Linked DNA regions of Homo sapiens: regions 1 and 3 are each linked to region 2. Evidence: promoter capture Hi-C in human tissues and cell types (Jung and others, 2019). All regions are on one chromosome and are shown on one strand. Each heading gives the region's core, a stretch centred on a gene start or on the middle of the fragment in contact. The rest is flanking DNA. Distances are from core to core; before and after follow the strand shown.

Region 1 (3,819 bases), core at 265-2,764, 1.3 Mb before region 2:
TTGTAGAGATGGGGGTCTCCCTACATTGCCCAGGCTGGTCTTGAACTCTTGGCCTCAGGCAATCCTCTTGCCTTGGCCTCCCAAAGCACTGGGACTACAGACATAAGCCACCACACCTGGCCTGTATGTGCATTTGGAGTGTTGAAATGTGAGGTGAATCATGCGTTGTATATCTGCTGGGGGATGGGGGCTGAGGTGGCGTGTTTGACAGCGCAGTGTATCGGTGTGCTTCACTGTGTGTGTCTGTGTGTGTAGTGGCAATGTCATAGTTGCGTGTTTTGCAAGAGAAAGGGTGTGGGGGATGAATGTGGGACAGAGTTTGTATGGGATGCTTTGTGTCAGGATAGGGCAAGGTTGGAGCATGTGGATGATGGGGATTCTGAAAGTAGAATATATTCAGAGATGCCATGGTGTGTGTGTGTGTGTGTGTGTGTGTGTAGAGGGGTGTGAGTGAGCCCAGCTGTGTGAGTGGGTGTGTTGGGGGATGTCGTGGAGCTGTTTTCTGGTCCCAGAGGGAGAGAGAAAGCCCAGGAAATCTCACTTTCTCCCTGCCCCTGGGTCTCCAGGCAACGGCACCACTTTGGAGTTACCAGGAGACAAGGTTGCCAGGGCAACACAGGCGTGAGTGGCAGCTCTGGGGCGAAGTCTGGGTGAGAAGATCCAGCCAGGGATCACGATCATTCACTTTGTTCCTCCCTTTCTCCCTGTTTCTCATCAATCCCACCTCCCTTCCTTCATTGTCTTAACGAGCACGTATTTGAGAACCTACAAATGTGCTAGGTGCTATTCTCGGTACTGGAGAACAGAAGTGAACAAGACAATGTCCCTGCTGTATCTCTCCTTCAGTCTTCCAGCTCCTGTCTCTTTATCTCTCCTGCTTCCTTCTTTGTCCTGCGGTCCTGCCTTCCCCCCGTACCACAAAGGCGGCCCCACAGAACCCCTTAGCCAGTGAGGAAGTAAGTTGAGAGGCTTCATCTCACAGACTTTCGGGGATGGCCGTTGATGTTTTGTCCACGAGCCTGTGTCCCCAGACACACACTCCGGCCCATACTCAGGTGCACAGAAAGACAAGCACACAGCTCATCCCCCTCTCCAAAACTCTCAGTTGTCATTGGATGACATCAGCAAAACCACACACAAATACATGCCGATCACAATACTCCTCTGAGATATCATAAGCCCCATTTTACAGCAGGGCAAACTGAGGCTAGGAGCCTTTAAATAATATGTCACTCATTCTGGTCTACTCCTCCAACTTTCAACCCTTATATTTGTCTGATTAGCTGACAATAATAGTATTCGTGCTGGTTCCCCCAGCAGCCTCCCTCAGGGAAGGGTCTTATTTCCCTCGAATGCACCCATTCCTCCGCATAGGTTCTAACCATTTGCCCATTCACCTGAGGAATCGAGTTTTGATGGACAGATTCCTAGACCAATAGAGAAACTAAGTGAACTGTACCGATGCGGCCACGGCTTGGGCGGGACTAAGGCTGGGAACGAGCCACCGATTGGTCAGAGCTACGCGGCGAATGGCGGAGACGCTGAGGCGGGTGCTAACCAGGGGCGGTGCGGCCTGGTCCGGGGAGGAGAACATGCCTGCCGCCGGACCGCCTTTGCTGCTGCTCGGTACACCAGGATCTGGAAAAACAGCGCTGCTATTTGCTGCGGCCCTAGAGGCGGCGGGGGAGGGCCAAGGCCCAGTCCTCTTCCTGACACGAAGGCCTCTTCAAAGCATGCCCCGCGGGACCGGAACGACTCTAGACCCAATGCGACTCCAGGTAACCGTGGGGGTGGGAGCAGAGGCGTTCTAGCCAATGGTGGAGTAGATCCGGGATATTGAGTAACAGGTAGACAAGCCAATGGAGAGGACGGTGGAAGAGCGAGCCAGGGCAGCCACGATGGGGCGGAGTCAGGCAGGCGGAGTGAGGAGTGGCACCACGCGGAGCTTAGTTAAGATTGAAGTGAGAGCCCATCCAATGATGGGCGGTGTTAGCAAGAGGCGGTGCCCAGAGATTGAAGTCCGGCCCATCAAGGGGCGGGGCTAAGCTTGGGTCCATTCTGGACCTGAGTTGGTTCCTGTTAGTGTCAAGGATGGGGTCAGACCGAGAATGCTGGGGGAGGGTTTTCCGTGGAAAAATTGCGCTAGAGATTTGGCCAAAAACAAACAAGCAAAAATGGCTTGCCCTCAACTAATACTCGGCAGTGATGAGTGCTGGAAAAACGGGCGAATATAAGAATATTTAACAGCTCTGAACTGGTTCATCCTGGAACCAAGGAAAGTATGCAAGGAGGCAGGGTTACTTTTAAGGAGTCTGGCTTCCTGTGCTGAATCCGGCCCTTTCCTTCTGTTTCTCCTTCTAGAAGATCCGCTTCCAGTACCCACCCTCAACCCGAGAGCTTTTCCGGCTCCTGTGCTCTGCCCATGAGGCCCCGGGGCCAGCCCCCTCCCTTCTGCTGCTCGACGGCCTAGAAGAGTACCTAGCGGAAGACCCAGAGCCCCAGGAAGCCGCCTACCTCATTGCCTTACTTCTAGACACAGCTGCCCACTTCAGCCACCGGCTTGGGCCTGGCCGGGATTGTGGGCTCATGGTGGCCCTCCAGACCCAGGAGGAAGCAGGTAGTGGGGACGTCCTGCACCTGGCACTGCTCCAGCGGTATTTTCCTGCCCAGTGCTGGCTGCAGCCAGATGCACCAGGTCCAGGAGAGCACGGCCTCCGAGCCTGCCTGGAGCCAGGCGGGCTGGGCCCCAGAACAGAGTGGTGGGTGACTTTCCGATCAGATGGAGAAATGATGATCGCTCCGTGGCCCACCCAGGCTGGTGACCCCAGCTCAGGCAAGGGTTCAAGCTCTGGAGGCCAGCCCTGAGCTTTGGTGGGTGACTACCTCTCTGTGCTTCAGTTTCCCATGGCTGGAATACTTACCTCAGGGACATATGCAGATCCAAAGACCTAAACAATGTAAAGTGCTTTTTCTCTTTTAAAAGTATAGCATTATCTTGTATATATTTTACCCAATCAATATGTTGTTTATAGTTTCATTGCTTTAAACTTTATAAAAAGAGCTTCAGGCCAGGCGTGGTGGCTCACGCCTGTAATCCCAGCACTTTGGGAGGCTGAGGCGGTCAGATCACCAGAGGTCAGGAGTTGGAGACCAGCCTGCCCAACATGATGAAACCCTGTATCAACTAAAAGTACAAAAAAAATTAGCTGGGTGTGGTGGCAGGTGCCTGTAGTCTCAGCTACTCAGGAGGCTTAGGCAGGAGAATTGCTTGAACCCAGGAAGCGGAGGTTGCAGTGAGCCGAGATTGTGCCACTACACTCCAGCCTGGGTGACAAAGCGAGACTCCATCTCAAAAAAAAAAAAAAAAAAAAGTTTGAGACTTCCTTCTTTTTGCACTCAACGTTGTTACTAAGATTCATCTACATTTTTTTAGTTCATTCCTTTTTCCATATTGCATATAATTCCATGGGTGACTATACCCTGATTTCTTCATCAGATTGCCTTATTTACTGCTGCGAACATTCTTGCACACATGCCCTGGTACGTGTGTGTGTTTTTAGGGGCCGAGACAGGTGGATCACCTGAGGTCAGGAGTTCGAGGTCAGCCCGGCCTACATGGTGAAACCCCGTCTCTACTAAAAATACAAAATTTAGCCAGGCATGGTGGCATGCACTTGTACTCCCAGCTACTTGGGAGGCTGAGACAGGAGAATTGCTTGAACCCGGGAGGCAGAGGTTGCAGTGAGCTGAGATCGAGCCACTGCACTCCAGCCTGGGTGATGAAGACGAGACTCTGTCTCAAAAAAAAAAAAAAAAAAA
Region 2 (4,147 bases), core at 1,550-4,049:
AGTGGGCCGAGATCATGCCATTGCATTCCAGCCTGGGTGACAGAGGGAGACTCTGTCTCAATAAAAATATAAATAAATAAAGGCCAGGTGACTCATGCCTGTAATCCCAGCACTTTGGGAGGCTGAGGCGGGCAGACCACGAGGTCTGGAGATCGAGACCATCCTGACCAACATGGTGAAACCCTGTCTCTACCAAAAATAAAAAAATTAGCTGGGCATGGTGGTCCTAGCTACTCAGGAGGCTGAGGCAGGAGAATTGCTTAAACCTGGGAGGCAGAGGTTGCAGTGAGCCGAGATTGCATCACTACACTCCAGCCTAGCAACAGAGTGAGACTCCATCTCAAAAAAAAAAAAAAAAAATTAGACAGGTGTGGTGGCATGCACCTGTAGTCCCAGCTACTCAGGAGGCTGAGGCAGGAGAACCGCTTGAACCCGGGAAGCAGAGGTTGCAGTGAGCTGAGATCATGCCACACTCCAGCCTGGGTGACAGAACGAGACTCCGTCTCAAAAAAAAAAAAAAAAAAAGCCTGAGCTTAATGCATGTCCACATTAATGCATAATGCATCTCCTTCATCCTCATCCTAATCACCCACTGGACAGAAGTAGAAACTGAGGCACAGAGAAGTCACACATCTCACTCAAAGTCACACCAAGGTTAGAAAAGTCAGATTCAAATCTATGCGGTCCTGTACCAAAACCTGGGGCCTTAACCAAGATGCCCTACTCAGGCCTCATACCTCCTATCCCCACCTGACTCCTCACCTCATGGGTACTATTTCGCTTAGTGCCTAAGGTCTTGATCAGAACCTGGTTGGACTCCGTCCCCAGCTGCCGCAGGTCCCACAAGTTGACGTTGCGATCTCGGGAGCCCGACAGACAGAGTGACCCACCCTGGAAAGGGAGCAAGGTGATGTTGTCAGGGCCACCCTGGCCCACCCTGCCTGGCCCCCCACAGACCCCGTCTCACCTGGAGCAGCAGCACTGAGTCAACGGAAGCCACGTGGCCTTCGGCCAGGCAGAAGTATTCGACCCAGCGCCCATCCTCTGCCCAGCGGGACAGGTGCTGCTCCAGCGCAATGCAGGCTGCCGGCCAGTCAAAGTTCTTCTCTGTGGGTTACCACGAGTAGGGTGCCCAGTGGGCAGGGACCCTAGCACCCATGCCAGCTGGCCAAGCCCAACCCTGGCTTCCAGGGAGCCCACACTACACCAGACTTGGACAGAACCCCATGGAGATCCCTACTCCCACCCCAAGCCGACCCAGGCTGTGGTCTTGGGACCACCTGCCTGCCCATTTCCCAGGCAGGTCTAGGACTACTCACTCCAATTTCCAGAAATTGGGAACTGGGGTCTCAGAACTACCTCTCCAGGCGCCATCCCCCAACCCAAACTCAGGGCAGAGCAGTCTCAGGATGTTGAGGTCTGACCTCAGGCTCAGCATAGAAGCTGGGACCTCATGACTAACCCTTCCTGCCTCAGCCATCTGAACCAGACCAAGGGGGCTGTTTCTCAAACAGTATCTGGAAACCAGGGAGCCTTGTCAAGATGCAGAATGCAAGCCCCAGATGCAGATTCTGTGATATGGACGGGGTCCAAGCATCTATGTTTATTAAGCTGTTTGGGAGAGTCTGACCTGGGGGTTGGATGGCAACACCTTGAGAATCACTGATCCCGGAGTGATCCTGATTCCTCTCTAAGCAGAATCAAAGCTTCCAGGTTAAGGGTATCAAACACCCAAGCTGTAATACATCTTGGCTTAAGGGCCTGAGGATCCAGCTGTATCAGGATCAACAATATCGATTCAAAGGTCCCAAGCTGTCTTCCCTCAGGAACCAATCAACTCAGGGCCAAGAGCCACTGTCTCACCCCTAACTGGGTCAAGGCTCTAGGGCTCAGGAGTTTTGACATCAACAGGTGCTGTCTCAGCTTCTAAGCTGGACTCAGAACCTGAGGATCCTTGGGCTCACTTTGAGCCCCAGCATAAACTCCAGAGCCTAAGACTTCAAGTCCCTGTGTCAATCCCCAATCAGGGGTCAGTGGCTTAGTACCACAAGACCCCAAGACTGAGGATATTTGGATCCTGAGTCGTCCAGGAACCACAGCCCCATGTTAGGGTTTCACAGCCTCAGGACCCCAAGTGCCTGACTGCCTCGTGGTCCACCCAGAGGTCCTCAGGGGCTTCGGCACCACCAGTAACTACCTTAGCCTCCAGCCTGAGCCAGGACAGCCACGAAGCCTGCACCAGAGGCTGCATCCGGAACACCCCATGTACCTCTTCCCCGCCCCAAGCCTGACCTGGGCGGGCGCCCCCGGCCCCCGGTCCCCGGCCCCCGGCCCCGCGCACCTTCCACCACTGGGTAGGGCGCGCGTACGCGGCGTAGCGCGCGTAGCCTCCAGGTGACATGGTCAGACACGAGGTCGCGGAGCGCGTGGCACACCCGCGACAGGACGTGGAGCACGAGGCGGGCGTCCAGGTAGGAGCAGATCTCGAGCAGCAGCTCCGGGGGAAGGCTCAGAAGGCCCGGCTCACTTACGGCCGAAACCCTGGACGCGGCCCGAGGCTCCGAAGCGCTCGGGGACGCGGCGGGTGTGGATAGCTGCGAGGGGCGCGAGAACGCCAGCCCGGATTTTGGCGGACTGAGAACGCGGGCCACGTAGGCCTTGGCCTGCGCGTCTGGGTCTGTCTCTGACTCTGGGTCCGAGTCATCGTCCCAGGTGCGGGAATCATCGCACCGCCCTAGGGGAAGCTCCATTGCGACCGGGTGGGCGCTGCCGGCCTCGCGTCTTGTCTCCTAGGCAGCACGAGGGCACTTCCGGCGCTGTCTGATGACGTTTATGCGCCCACCGGAAGCGACGAAGTCAGACACTGGCTTAATACAGAACATCGCCCCGCTTACAGGGTCTCTTGCAACTGCGTCGGCCTTAGGCTGGAAAATGCAGGTTCCTGTTTCTGCGCTTTTTAAACTAGCCGATACCGAGAGCCAGCCAACTCTAGCTAAAAACGAAACTCAAGCCAGGCGGGGTGGCGCGCGCCTGTAGTTCCAGATACTCAGGAAGGTGAAGGGGTAGGATCCCTTGAGTCCAGGAGTTCGAGACTGCAGTGAGCCATGGTTGTGCCACTGTACTCCAACCTGCGCAACATAGTGAGACCCTGTCTCTTTAAATTAGACATAAAATAAACACTGCTTTAACGAAGGCATCTGTTATATGTGACACTGAGCTTAGAAACCCAAAGGCCCCTTTCCGAGTTCAAGGAGTAGAGATTGGAACTCTTGCCTCTTTTCCCAGAGCCAGAAATATGCAGTTACACTGCAGAGGCATCAGTTAAGTGACTTTTTTTTTTTTTTTTTTTTTTTTTGAGAAAGGAACTGGGGCCTCAGAACTACCTCTCCAGACCCCATTCCCCAACCCAACCTTGGAGGACAGCAGTTCAGTCCTCCAAGCGGAGTGCTTGGCTCATTGCAACCTCCGCTTTCTGGACTCAAGTGATCCTCCACCTCGGCCCCCCAGGTAGCTGGGACTACAGGCGCGCACCACCACACCCGGCTAATTTTTGTATTCTTTTGTAAAGACAGGGTTTCACTACGTTGTCCAGGCTGGTCTGGAACTCCTGAGCTCAAGCCATCCGCCCCCAACTTGGTCTCCCAAAGTACCAGGATTACAGGCGTGAACCATCGCGCCTGGTGGAAAGCTACCTTTTTCTTTTTTCTGAGACGGAGTCTCACTCTGTCACCCAGGCTGGTGTGCAGTGGCGCGATCTCGGCTGGCTGCAACCTCCGCCTCCCGGGTTCAAGCGATTCTCCTGCCTCAGCCTCTAGAGTAGCTGGGAATACAGGCACGCGCCACCACTCCTGGCTAATTTTTGTATTTTTCAGTAGAGACGGGGTCGCACTATGTTGGCCAGGCTGGTCTCAAACTCCTGACCTCGTGATCCGCCCGCCTCAGCCTCCCGAAGTGATGGGATGACAGGCGTGAGCCACTGCGCCCGGCCTAACATCACACTTACTAAAACAGCATGTTGGCCGGGTGCGGTGGCTCAGGCCTGTAATCCCACCACTTCGAGAGGCAAGGTGGGTTAATCACTTGAGGTCAGGAGTTCAAGACCAGCCTGGCCAACAAGGTGAAACCCCTTCCTACTAAAAATACAAAG
Region 3 (4,086 bases), core at 696-3,195, 1.2 Mb before region 2:
AGGAGTTTGAAATCAGCCTGGGCAACACAGGGAAACCTCTGTCTCTACAAAAAATACAAAAATTAGCCAGGTGGAGTGACGTGCACCTGTGGTCCCAACTACTCAGGAGGCGGAGGTAAGAGGATCACTTGAACCCACGAGGTTGAGGCTGCAGTAAGCCGTGATCATGCCACTGCATTCCACTCTGGGCGAGAGAGTGAGACCCTGTCTCAAAAAGAAAAACGAGGGCCGGGCGCGGTGGCTCACGCCTGTAATCCCAGCACTTTGGGAGGCCGAGGCGGGTGGATCACGAGGTCAGGAGATCGAGGCCATCCTGGCTAACAGAGTAAAACCCTGTCTCTACTAAAAATACAAAAAATTAGCCGGGCGTGGTGGCGGGCGGCTGCAGTCCCAGCTACTTGGGAGGCTGAGGCAGGAGAATGGCGTGAACCCGGGAGGCGGAGCTTGCAGTGAACGGAGATCGTGCCACTGCACTCCAGCCTGGGCGACAGAGCAAGACTCTGTCTCAAAAAAAAAGAAAAGAAAAGAAAAACGAACAAAAAAACCCCCCAGACCTTTGAACAAGCCATCCCCTCTGCCCACCAGAATGTCCGCTCCATGAGGCAGGTATCTTTGCGCTCCCAGCATTTCCAGTCCTGCTCTTGAGCATATAAGCCAGCCTGCTGTCCTGGGAAAGGGGTGGGTATAACTTAGCAGGATCTGTTTGATTCTTGACTCTCAGAATCTCCCCCCAGAGAAACATGAGAACATGTGTACCTGAAAACCAGGGCAGAACAAGGATTTCCTTGCGGCACTGCTTGTGATACGGAATAAACGTCATCCTCGTAAAAGTTAATACTTAGGGAACCCACTACCTGCCAGGCACTCTTCTAAGCTCTTTGCCTATTTTAACTCAATCATCACATCAACATATAAGGCAGGAAGGGAAAAACTCCATCCACACTGCTCCTTCTCAAGACTGAGAATTTACAAAGACAGGCCTCTCTGCCCTCCACCTGCCAAGCTAACTAGGGGTTTCCTCTTCATCCGAGTCTCCCTGGGCTGAGTTGCTTCACAGAAATAGGTTTAGGGGAGTGCAGTCCAGGTTGTGAAGGGTCCCCCGGATGTGTTGGATCTAGGGTTGTGGGAATGGGGCCATACGGAGTCCCAGATGGGGCACCAGAACTTCAAGAAGGGCAGGGCTGAGTGCCCCAGGGTGTCCAGAGTCCCAGGCCAGGTGGGGAACTAAGCGGGGGAGGATGAGACCGGTGAGGGGGCGGGGCTGCCCCCCCAGGGCCTGGTTAGTTACAAGGCCTGGAGGTGGGGCCAGTCCCAGGATTGGGCCGCCAGAGTTCTAGCGGGCGGGGCCAAGCGCTCAGAAGGCGGGTCGAGGGGCTGGGTGCACCCTAGGATTGGGCAGTCGGAACGATGGGAGGCGGGGCCACGAGCCAGGCGCGTCCCGGCCAGGCAGTACGAGACCCAGGCCGCCGGCCCGGCTCCTGGGCGGGGTCCGCAGGTGCCGGGGGCTGGCCCTAGAAGCGGAGGGGGCGGGGTAAAGCCCGGCGGGGTCTGGGGGCGTCTCCTCCCTCCCTCCCTCGGGGCCAGGCCCCCTCACCCGTGGCGGCCGCTCCGCTGGCCGCGCTCCAGAGAGATGAGGTAGGCGGCGAGCTTGGCGTCGCTCCAGCCGCTGCGGCGCCGCAGGTCCACCCAGGGCCCGTGCGCCTCGCCCAGGTACACGCGCCGCACGTCGTACTTCTTCCGGGACTCGAGCCGTCGCCGGGCCCGGTCCGACTCCGTGAGTCGCGGCCGGCCCCGCGCCTTTCGGCCCGCTGCGCCCTCCTCGGCTGCTGCCTCCCCGCCCGCGCCCGCCTCAGCCTCCGCCTCCGCCTCGGGCTCTAGCGCCCGCTCCGCCATCCCCCCCACCCTGGTTACCAGCCTCCCCCGTTGTTAGGAGCCAGACCGGAAGTGGCGCGCATCTTCGGCGCCGCCGAGAAATTTCTCACGGTCTCTCGCTGCCCCAGGGCGCCAAAAGGAGACCAAGAATGGAAACTGCGCATGCGCACAACCAACAGCGCTCCCGCCCCTTTTTATTTGAATTCGGAGAACCAGAGGCGCCTGCAGATTCTGGAGGGGTCTCGCCTGCCCATCGCTGGCAGCCCGAGATCCTGGGGAGGGGATGCCATACTGCTAGAGATGAGGGAAGAGAGCCCCAAGCAGGAAAACATTGATTTGCTGTACACTCAAAGGGCATCTCATGCCTTCAGTCCACCGCCTCCTCGGGCCACAGCCCGTGCCCTCGCGCCGGCTCAGACTAGCTCTGGCCCTGCTGCTGTCGCTGCAGGTTGTCGTCTTCTTCCTGGTGGTCCTCGGGCAGGGGCGGCTCCTCCAGCCCTGCAGAGGATGTCTGGAGCTCCCGGGTGGACCCGGCGAGGCGGAAGACCACGGGGATCTGGGCCAGGGTTGGGTTGGTCTCCTGCAGGCCCTGGATCCACTTAGCCATCGTCGCCTGGTCATGAGCACCCGCCATGCACATGGCGAAGACAGGGCCTTCCTCCACTGTTGGAAGACATGCACCCTTAAGGTTTGCACAGTGGGGGCTGCAGCGGCTAACCCATGCCTACACCTTTTTGAGGTATTTTACACTCCCTTCCACTTCCTTTTTTTTTTTTTTTTTTTTTTTGAGACGGAGTCTCGCTGTGTCACCCAGGCTGGAGTGCAGTGGCGAGATCTCGGCTCACTGCAACATCCGCCTCCCAGGTTCAAGTGATTCTCCTGCCTCGGCCTCCCGAGGAGCTGGGATTACAGGTGCACAGCACCACGCCGGGCTAATTTTTAAATTTTTAGTAGAGATGGGGTTTCACCATGTTGGCCAGGCTGGTCTCGAATTCCTGACCTCAAATGATCTACCCGCCTCAGCCTCCCAGAGTGCTGGGATTACAGGCGTGAGCCACTGTGCCCGGCTTCCTTCCACTTTCTTGTGCCTCCAAACCTTTGCACAAGCTAGCCCCGCTGCCTAGGCTGCCCACTCCACACTTCACCCGGGCGATGACTCCTGGTTTTTCTGTATTCTGCCAGGAAGGCCTCCTGACCCCCCACTCAAGGCATGCTCCTCTCCTAAGCTCCCCAAAGTGTAATTTGCCTGTTCCCTTGCTGACTCGAGGGACTAGGTTTGTCCTGGTGACACCCAGTAGCCAGCACAGAGTTGTAGGAGGGAGGGAATGAACAAGGGCCAACAGGGCTGGGTGACCTCAGGTCTGGAGCCCCTGGGGCAAATGAGTGTGTGCGGCCGGAGGACGAGGGTGTAAGTGGACTGCGTCTCAGCCTGGGCCTACCCCTTGACCCCAGAGGCCGCCCCTCATCCTGGGTGGTGTTTGGAATGTTTGGAAGTCCTGCCTGTCCAGGTTTTTGCCTTTTTTTTTTTTTTTTTTGACACAGGGTCTATCATGTAGGCTGGAGTGCAGTGGCTCTATAATAGTTCACTGCAACCTCAACTCCTGGGCTCAAGTGATCCTCCCACCTCAGCCTGTAGGAGGGCTGGGATTACGAGCACACATGTGAGCCACCGCACCTGGCCCAGTTTTTACCTTCATTGATGTCAAACTCGTAGTTGTCCCAGCCACTCCTCACATACTCCAGGTCCAGCTGCATCGGGTAGTAGAGGTTCCACTCCTCCGGCGTCTCTTCCACTTCCTACTCCAAGGTGGGGAGTGCAGGCGGGGTCAGAGGCCAGGGCTCTCTCGGTCTCCCTCCTCCAGCCTCTCCCATGCACCCTCAGGGTAGTGCCAGCCCACTCCCCAGCCCCAACACATGCTTTGCTTTAAGCCCTCACCCTCTCCTCCGGGGGCAGCAAGTCAGCTCTGAGGATGTGGTAATACACACACTTGTTGCGGAGCCACAGGGAGAAGGGGCCCTCAACAAAGACAGGCCGGGCTGGATTGTGGCGGGCCAGGGCGGCCTGCTGATCGGGACTCTGGATTCCTGGTGTGGAGACATACATGCCCTGTGCCCTGCAAGGGACTCGGCCCAGAGGCCCAGGGAGCCCAGCCTAGGCCCAGCGAGAACCTGGCAGGGCCTGGGTAAGGTTAGAGACTTGGCTGCCCCCATGCT

What was found. Contacts are between HindIII fragments. The study calls those that stand out against the background at their distance.
Region 1: a contact is called between the fragment with the promoter of SWSAP1 here and the fragment with the promoter of FBXW9 in region 2, in 1 of the 25 tissues and cell types used here (dorsolateral prefrontal cortex).
Region 3: a contact is called between the fragment with the promoter of ZNF653 here and the fragment with the promoter of FBXW9 in region 2, in 1 of the 25 tissues and cell types used here (spleen).

The regions. Positions count from the first base shown.
Region 1 is chr19:11,373,152-11,376,970 of GRCh38, forward strand. It overlaps SWSAP1 (SWIM-type zinc finger 7 associated protein 1), which reads left to right and starts at 1,515. Exons shown (of 2, transcript NM_175871.4): 1 at 1,515-1,778; 2 at 2,362-3,018. The coding sequence starts at 1,530. The coding sequence ends at 2,865. RefSeq lists a silencer at 1,345-1,424 and enhancers at 1,525-1,594, 1,815-1,864, 2,095-2,174, 2,195-2,244. The HindIII fragment of the contact is 10,471 bases long and covers 1-3,819 here.
Region 2 is chr19:12,693,832-12,697,978 of GRCh38, forward strand. FBXW9 (F-box and WD repeat domain containing 9) reads right to left here and starts at 2,800. Exons shown (of 10, transcript NM_032301.3): 1 at 2,342-2,800; 2 at 968-1,107; 3 at 763-891. The coding sequence starts at 2,750. RefSeq lists enhancers at 2,710-2,759, 3,070-3,129. The HindIII fragment of the contact is 8,232 bases long and covers 1-4,147 here.
Region 3 is chr19:11,503,894-11,507,979 of GRCh38, forward strand. ZNF653 (zinc finger protein 653) reads right to left here and starts at 1,946. Exons shown (of 9, transcript NM_138783.4): 1 at 1,595-1,946. The coding sequence starts at 1,893. It overlaps ECSIT (ECSIT signaling integrator), which reads right to left. Exons shown (of 8, transcript NM_016581.5): 6 at 3,809-3,957; 7 at 3,564-3,669; 8 at 2,036-2,535. The coding sequence ends at 2,291. RefSeq lists enhancers at 1,042-1,111, 3,564-4,086 and silencers at 1,262-1,931, 2,092-2,141. The HindIII fragment of the contact is 10,042 bases long and covers 1-4,086 here.